3 separate regions of the Homo sapiens genome follow, and regions 1 and 2 are each linked to region 3. The links are contacts of gene promoters, found by promoter capture Hi-C in human tissues and cell types (Jung and others, 2019). All regions are on one chromosome and are shown on one strand. The core of a region is centred on a gene start or on the middle of the fragment in contact, and the rest is flanking DNA. Distances in the headings are between cores, read along the strand shown. Region 1 has its middle 87 kb from the start of GADL1. Region 2 has its middle 41 kb from the start of GADL1. Region 3 holds the start of STT3B (STT3 oligosaccharyltransferase complex catalytic subunit B).

Region 1 (2,700 bases), core at 6-2,505, 550 kb after region 3:
ATGGGTGACATGTTTTTCTGCAAGGAAGAAGAGATCTTGGTAAAGTTTCTAACAAAATAATGAGTGATTTTTGCTTTTAAGCCCCAATTTAAAGCCTGCACTTAAAAAGAACAGTAACTTTATTTTAGTGGATATCATGATACCTAAGATCCCCCTCTAGGAAAGAGGCACTTATTTTCCCAGCTGCTGGAAGTGCTAATGGCTGATGCCCCTTAGCTGATTGTCCTCTTTGGGATTTGTGCTTGGCTGAAGAGAGTGTCTTGCCCCAAGATCATACCCATTTTTCAGGCACAAACTACATTCAGTGGCTGGTCAGTGCAGGGTTATAAAGGTGCAGCTCTCCTGCCTCAATTCAGAACAACTCTGAAGGGCCCTCTCAGCTCTAGATCTCCAGGTTGGATTGGCTGAGACCTTTGCTGCAACTATACTGTAGCTCAGCTTCTCTCCCTGCCCTCAATGACTTCCCTCTGTCTCTCAGGGGTGCTGATTCTGAGCATACTCTCCAATAAACCTCCTGCTGCTATCTCAGGAGCTGACCAGTGATACACCATCTTAGGGAAGACCGAAGTCCTTTACTAATCAGCTGGGTCACGGTTATCTCAAAAGATTCTTATCTAGCATTTGATCCCATATGGAGTGGCTTTGTTGAGACAGACAGGGAAAAACTGAAATTGCATTTAATTGAATGACTGCTGGTGGCATAAAAACAGGCAGGTAGAGGAGGAGGGGAGGCACAGGTGATGGAGGAAGGCGAATGGCAGCTGGAGACATGATAGGAACAAGTCTCTGGGGATTGATCAGGTAGAGGCACTAAATTCAGAAACAGGGCCAGCCTCAAGCAAAAATGTAAATTAGGCAACACTTGTTCTACTTTTCCCCAGTGCCTTTTTCTCTCCATGGAGCCTGTAGCCATCAGAACCTACTCTCTGGAAAAGATCTGATAAGCTATTTACCCCTTAGTGTGAATCTAAGTCAACAGCTTTGTTTTTCTTTTTTTTTTTTTTCCCCCACTTGCAGAGTTATTTGCATTTTAAGTATTTTTATGGAACAAAAATTTTGGTCCTTTGTTAAAAGGAATTTTAACAAACTACCAGTAAGTAGAGGGATTGGGGGTAGGAAAGAGGAATCCTTTCCTCTTCCCAACCACTCAAAATCAGTTCTCATTGAGGAATTTTCTTGGGTGACAAAGGATGGGAAGGTGGCACCTTAGTAGGAATGTCTATAAGCTGTTTGGAGATGGATCCCTCATAAATTCTATTTTCCCATCCCCATGGAATTTGCTATATAGGGTTGCAAAGCAAAGTCGCATAGTTTTCATTTTAAAGATAGAGTAAATTTGGAAATCTTCTCTTGTCTGGACAGATTCTTACAACGAATTTGGGTTTTTAAAAGGATACTATAAAATGTGAAAAAACATTTGTAAATTTTATTTATTTGTAAACTCTTTACCAGAAGATATAGAATGTTGGCCTAATAATTTTTTATCTCTTTCAGTTCCTTTTCTGTTGAACCAGATCACTATTCAAAAGATTCATTCCCCAAGATTCTTCCTCAGCTTTGTCTTCAATAGTCTCAATGAAATAGAAGAAATTTAAAAAGTAAAAGCAATGAGAACAACTTTAAGACATCTCTGTAGAGAATTCAGTCCTCTTCAGCAGTCCCATATTTTCATCTGTTCATTCATTCATTCCACGAATGTCAACTCTCCATACCGTGCTAGGCTGTGTCCTAGATGCAGAAGCAGAACAAATAAAGAGGCACTAGCTGATGTCCTTGAGCCCTTTCAGGGTAACAACATCCTTCTTGATCTGCTGACCTGCATGGCAAGATGTTATTTACTGCTCACATTAGTTGTGTCCTTGGCTATGAATTAACCATGACTTAAGAGCAGTGTGTGTGAAAGCCCTCCGCATTCTGTTGGCAAGCATGTTGTTTGCAAAAATTGATCATTCATTTTTAAGCAACACCTATGTGGATCATTAACACCAGGTACAGTTACTAAAATGAAACTCTTGAGAATATTTTCCATTTGTAATTTGAATTCTTGTCAATTTTTGAGGCTTTCCTGAAAACAAATGACTGGGTTTTTTAAAATCCATCTTTTTAAGTTTTTTATTCACTGAATTAGTTAGAAGTGATTCTGCTAATCTTTCTTAACCCTAAATGCAATATTTTCTGAGTGAAATAATGAAAAACCTGAGGAAAAAAAAACTATAGGAAATCATAATTTGCTGAGGCAGGGTTTTCTTTATTAATAAAATAATTTAATTGGTTGTTACTAAATGTGATGGTTTTATGACCAAGTATAAGATTTAGTTAGTAAGCATGAATTGCAATTATATACAGCAATATTTCTTTGCTGGGATGATTGGGAAGGTCATCTCTTTGGGCCTTAGTTTCCTCATCCATAAAGTAAGTTTGTTTGTACTCCATTGAAAAAAAAAAAAAGGGTGGGGGCTGGGTGCAGTGGCTCACACCTGTAATCCCAGCACTTTGGGAGGCCGAGGGGGTGGATCACTTGAAGTTAGGAGTTCAAGATCAGCTTGGGCAACATGGTGAAACCATGTGTCTACTGGAAATACAAAAATTAGCTGGGAGTGGTGGTATGCCTCTGTAATCCCAGATACTCAGTGACTGAGGCAAGAGAATCCCTTGAACCTGGGAGGCAGAAGTTGCAGTGAGCCGAAATTGGGCCACTGC
Region 2 (2,700 bases), core at 201-2,700, 600 kb after region 3:
GACTTCCATCTATCACCTGAAACCATAAAAATTCTAGAATATAACATCAGAAAAACTCTTCTAGACATTGGCTTAGGCAAAGACTTCATGACCAAGAACCAAAAAGCAAATGCAACAAAAACAAAGATAAATAGATGGGACTTAATTAAACTAAAAAGCTTCTGCACAGCAAAAGAAGTAATCAGCAGAGTAAACAGACAACCCACAGAGTGGGAGAAAATATTCACAAACTATGTGTCTGACAAACGATTAATATCCAGAATCTACAAGGAACTCAAATCAGCAAGAAAAAGCAAATAATCCCATCAAAAAGTGGGGTAAGGCCATTAATAGACAATTCTCAAAAGAAGATATACGAATGGCCAGAAAACATATGAAAAAAGTGCTCAACATTACCAATTATCAGGGAAAGGAAAATCAAAACCACAATGTGATACCACCTTACTCCTGCAAGAATGGCCATAATTTTTTAAAAAAATGATGTTGGCGTGGATGTGGTGAAAAGGGACTACTTTGACACTGCTTGCGGGAAGGTAAACTAGTACAACCACTGCGGAAAACAGTATGGAGATTCCTTAAAGAACTAAAAGCAGGTCTACCATTTGATCCAGCAATCCCACTACTGAGTATCTACCCAGAGGAAAAGTCATTATGTGAAAAAGACATTTGCACATGCATGTTTATAGCAACACAATTCACGGTTGCAAAAACATGAAACCAACATAAATGCCCATCAACCAACAAGTGGATTTAAAAAAAAAGTGGTATATATTTACCATGGAATACTACTCAGCCATAAAAAGGAAGGAAATAATGGCATTCACAGCAACCTGGATGGAGTGGAGACCATTATTCTAAGTAACTTAGGAATGAAAAACCAAACATCTTATGTTCACATTTATAAGTGGGAGCTAAGCTATGAAGACACAAAGGCATAAGAATGATATAATGGACTCTGGGGACTTGGGGGGAAGGGTGGGAGGGGCCGAGGGATAAAAAACTACACATTAAGTGCAGTGTACACTGCTTGGGTGATGGGTGCACGGAAATCTCAGAAATCACCCCTAAAGAACTTATTCATGTAACCAAACACCACCTGTTCCCCAAAAACTATTGAAATAACAACAACAACAACAACAAATAGTAATAATAATAAAAAGAAAGTGGTGGAGGAATTTTGGGGAGTGTTTCTTAAGTTAAATAACAAAGGTGTGAGAGCAAGTACTGAGGAAGATGGAAGAAGAAGAGATTGTAGACAGAGGTAGGAAAAAAAGGAGAGTTTAGACATGGTTTAGTCTGAAAAATGGTCCAGGAAGTGACCATGACATTGGGTTGACAGCAAATGAAAATGACGGTCAAAATGCGGAATAAGGATCTTGGAATTTTCAGGATTCGGAAATACGTGGCTTGTATGTTAGCATAACCCCCTCCTCACACATGACGGATATTATCATCCCATCCATCACGGCTCTGATGGCTTTATAATATAGCTTTATAATCCTTCTCAAACAGCATTTCATTTAGCCACTGCTAACTGGTGTCTAGTCATTCCAGAGCTTGGTTATTTCAGGCAAAAGTTAGTAAACACTAATTATTAATCTATGTCGCTGTTTGTATGAAGTGTAACATAATGGAAAGTGCCTGGGCTAGGCATCTGAAGGTTTAGGTTCTTTCTGAGTCTATTCCCAGTTATGTGACTTTGAGTAGGTGACTTAATTGATCTGCACACTTGTAAACTGAAGATAATTATACCCAGTTTCCAGCCTCACTGGAAATTTGTGAACAGACCGCTCTGATTAGCTGGGTGTGGTGGCAGATGGTTGTAGTCCTCACTACTTTGTAGGCTGAGGCAGGAGGATCCCTTGAACCCAGGAGTTAGAGGTGCAGTGAGTAAGATCAGACCACTGCACTCCAGCCTGGGTGACAAAGTGAGATCTTGTCTCTGAAAAATATAAATAAAAAATAAAACCCTGCTTTTAGAAAAAGTTGAAGATGCTATACAAAATTTATTATTAGCATCATTAGCCATGTAGAAAGCTACAAGTCGTGGCATAAAATGGACAAAATATGAAACTAATTGAAGAAGGCTATATAGACTAAAAATATACGGTTAGATTTGTTTTTGGTTTTTAAATGGTCACTTCCTGGGTATTTTTTAGTTTAAACTAGAGCATTCATTTCAAGTGACTTTAACAGCTATTAAAGGAAAACAAGAAAAGCTCAGTTATTTAAAGAATTGTTTAAGAGAAGGTTTAAGATTAGAAGAATTATACAATATTGCCACATCGTACAGAACTGGATCACTCTGGTTTTTCTTGCTTCTTATTTTTCCTACAAGTTTCCTCTCTGCTAAAGACCCCAAAAGTCCCGTCCCATTACTCGTGTGCTCATGATCAAGTGTGAATTAGACCTGTTGAATTTTACAGTTTTGCCATTCCCATGTCGACCTGCCCTCTATTTTTCCAAGGAGAAAATAAAATGTTATTATTCATGTTGCTCCTGCCATAACTCACAAATAGGAGGAACACCTCTCCTGTAAGCTGTGAAACTGTTCAAACGCCATGCTGATGCTTCCCCCTGTGGTCACAAAAGAAACTTGTTTGCTTTTTCTCCAACGTATTTGGAAAGGATGTTTTTACGGCAATGCTGTTTGAATTATTATAGCTAACCTTTTCCAGTGTACATGTCTAGAGGCATAAT
Region 3 (2,700 bases), core at 151-2,650:
TGTAGTGTCTAAGTTAGCTAGTGTTGTTAAGAGTGGGGTAATTTCCTAAAACATTCAGGTCAGTCCCTTACACCATGTGCAACTTCGGTATTACAATCTAGGACTCCCATCACCGTGGTACTGTTTGCTCTTATCCACAAACCTTCCTGCAGACCAATAAAGGAACTAATGCAATGCTTTCAGATACTGTGCATAACACACTAAGGGTGACAGTGGCTAACAGGGTAAGGATCTTGTTCTAAAAAGCAACCCAAGACGATAGTGAAACAGTAAGGTGCTGAGTGCACTTAAGAGCTCTGAAAAAAAGCCACTCTTTAAAATACCTAATGATAAATAAATAAGAGTAGCTAGCTTTCAGATCACTTTCAGGGGTATTATTTCCTTCCCTCCAACACGCCATTCACTCTCCTTTTCCCTTCTCGTATCATGAGAGCATAAAAAGAAACAGTAAAAGCGTAAAACTGCAAGGGTGAGCAGCCGGGGTTCCGGCACATCTGGACCCACCTCCAGCGGCAACAGGGCAGCCCCCCTGGCCGATTCCGTCTGAACTAGCAAAAACGCGCCCGCAAATATGAAAGAACGCGAAAGCAGCGGGCGAGGAGGGCGGGGAATCGACCGACAGTCCGCGGAGGAGCTACCTGCCGCCTCCTGGCGTGGCGGGTCCGGACTCAGCGACCAAAGCGGGCTGCGAGGGACTGCACCCACACTCCCGGCGGCTGCACCCACACTCCCGGCGGCTGCATCCACACTCCTGGCAGTCTTCACACTAGCCCGGCCGAGAATCAAGGTTTCGCTCCTGGACCCCGACGCCCCGCCTCAGGCTGCACGGGGCAAACTTCGCCCACGGGCAGGGGGCGCGCCCGGAGCTCCGGGATCCGCGCCGGCCTCAGCCAGGACGCGAGCGGGGCTCCGCGGCGGCGCGGGGCCAAGTCGAGGAGAGCTGCGGCGGGCGGAGGAGCGGGTCCCGGTTCCCCGCGGGCCACGGGCGGGGGAGGGGCGGCGAGGCACTTACCACGGGTCGAACTCGTGGATGATGCTTTCGAAGCGGATGACGGCGAAGAGGCGCGAGCTGAAGCCGGCAAGCCAGGCCAGGAAGAGGATGGTGAAGGAGAGAAGCGACTGCCACCCAGCCGGCTGCGACAGCCCCCCGGACAGCCCCGCCGGGGCCGGCTTCGGCGGCGCCGCGCCGCCCGCCGCCTTGTGCGCGCACTGGGCCCCGGGCCCGTGGTGGCCGTGCCGGCTGTTTCCCAGGGCCATGAGGCCACTCCACGGGGACGAGTTGAGGGACGACTTGTGCTTGCTCTCCGGGGCCGAGGGCTCCGCCATGTTGTGCCCCGGCGGCGGGTCTAGCTCTCCTCCTCCGCCGCCGCCGCCTGGTGCGAGGGGTGCTGGGCGGGGACCCGGAGGAGGAGGAGGAGGAGGAAGAAAAAGGAGGAGGGAAGAGCTCTGCGCGCTCCCGCCCTCAGCGCCGCGAGGCCGGCGGACTGGGGGTGGAGGAAGCGGCGGCGGGGAGTCTCCGCCTCAGCAGCGGCCGCAATCGCCGCTCTCTCAACCCAGATGGCCCCGGCGCCCCACTAGCCATCCGTATCCCCAGTGCAGCTGCGGCGGCGGCGGCGAAAGCCGACGGGACGAGGGCGCCAGGAAAGAAGCAGCAGACGGAGGCGGCACCACGGCTCTGAGAAGCAATGACATTCCCTCTCTAGCCCGCCGCCCGCCCAGCCGAAAGGAGCAGGGGGAGGAGCCCCCTGGAGTCCGGGCGGAGCTCAAGCAACCTCTGACTCCGCCTCCGGCCCGACAGGAACTGGCCCCTCCGCCTGTCACAAAGCGACAGGTCCGTTAGGGGGCGGGCCCAGAACCGCTGCGCCCACCAATAGGGGCGCGAGCTGGGGCGGAGCTTGACCCAACCGTCTCCCCCTCCCCCCCACCATCCCGGCCTCGCGCCGATTCGCCCGGAGTGGCCGAGCTGCGCGGCTACGGCTTCATTGTCAGTTGAAAGACGCGGTTTCGCGCGCCTGTGCGGTCGGCGAGAAAGGGTACTAGGCGGCTCCGCTAGGTTCATGGAGCTGAGCTGGGCCGAGGGGCGGGAACTGCGGAGCGGCCTCGGTCAAACTCGTCTTAAAGGACGCGGAAAGCGCCGCACCGACCAGCAGGACGCTCGCGGGCTCTCCGCGGTCGTGACTTTTAACCCGCTTTGCGCGGAGCCCTCACCACGTGACGGCCGCGCAGGCGCATTATCCTAGCCCTCGGCGCGTGGGTCGGGCCGAGGGGTTCAGCAGCCCGTGGCGCTCCTCGGCTGGCGCTGCGAGTGAGCCCGCGGCGGCAGTGACACAGCCTACCTTGCTCATTGCCCTTCACGTCCCGCCTCCGGCTTCTGCGGCCGCGGGAATCCGAGAATGTGAGCAAAGACAAGTTTTCCGACACCGAAAACTCGTTGGAACCGGCAAGCGCGCCCCTAGCTCCGGCAGGCAAAATGCGACCTTCTCTCGCCCTTTTTCGTTTGTACTCCGAATTGCGAAAGTACTGTATGTTCACTGGAAATATGGGAAAATGCAGAAATACATTAACGGCTGCATACATTCCGTCGAGTGAGTGAAACTAACTTACCCTGGACGTTAAGCTGTTTCCAGTTCTCACTTTACTAAATAATAATAGAACGAAGGTTCTTGTGCACGTCTACCTTGTATTTTTATAATTCCTTTC

Evidence for each region. Contacts are between HindIII fragments. The study calls those that stand out against the background at their distance.
Region 1: a contact is called between a fragment that was not itself captured here and the fragment with the promoter of STT3B in region 3, in 1 of the 25 tissues and cell types used here (aorta).
Region 2: a fragment that was not itself captured here is called in contact with the fragment with the promoter of STT3B in region 3 in 1 of the 25 tissues and cell types used here (aorta).

The regions. Positions count from the first base shown.
Region 1 is chr3:30,980,720-30,983,419 of GRCh38, reverse strand. No RefSeq gene overlaps it. Among named protein-coding and RNA genes, the nearest start is that of GADL1, 87 kb to the right of the region's middle. The HindIII fragment of the contact is 6,870 bases long and covers 1-2,700 here.
Region 2 is chr3:30,934,216-30,936,915 of GRCh38, reverse strand. No RefSeq gene overlaps it. Among named protein-coding and RNA genes, the nearest start is that of GADL1, 41 kb to the right of the region's middle. The HindIII fragment of the contact is 5,852 bases long and covers 1-2,700 here.
Region 3 is chr3:31,531,625-31,534,324 of GRCh38, reverse strand. STT3B (STT3 oligosaccharyltransferase complex catalytic subunit B) reads right to left here and starts at 1,400. Exons shown (of 16, transcript NM_178862.3): 1 at 1,013-1,400. The coding sequence starts at 1,326. RefSeq lists enhancers at 668-727, 1,578-1,717 and silencers at 888-1,037, 1,118-1,247, 1,278-1,507, 1,818-2,077. The HindIII fragment of the contact is 7,687 bases long and covers 1-2,700 here.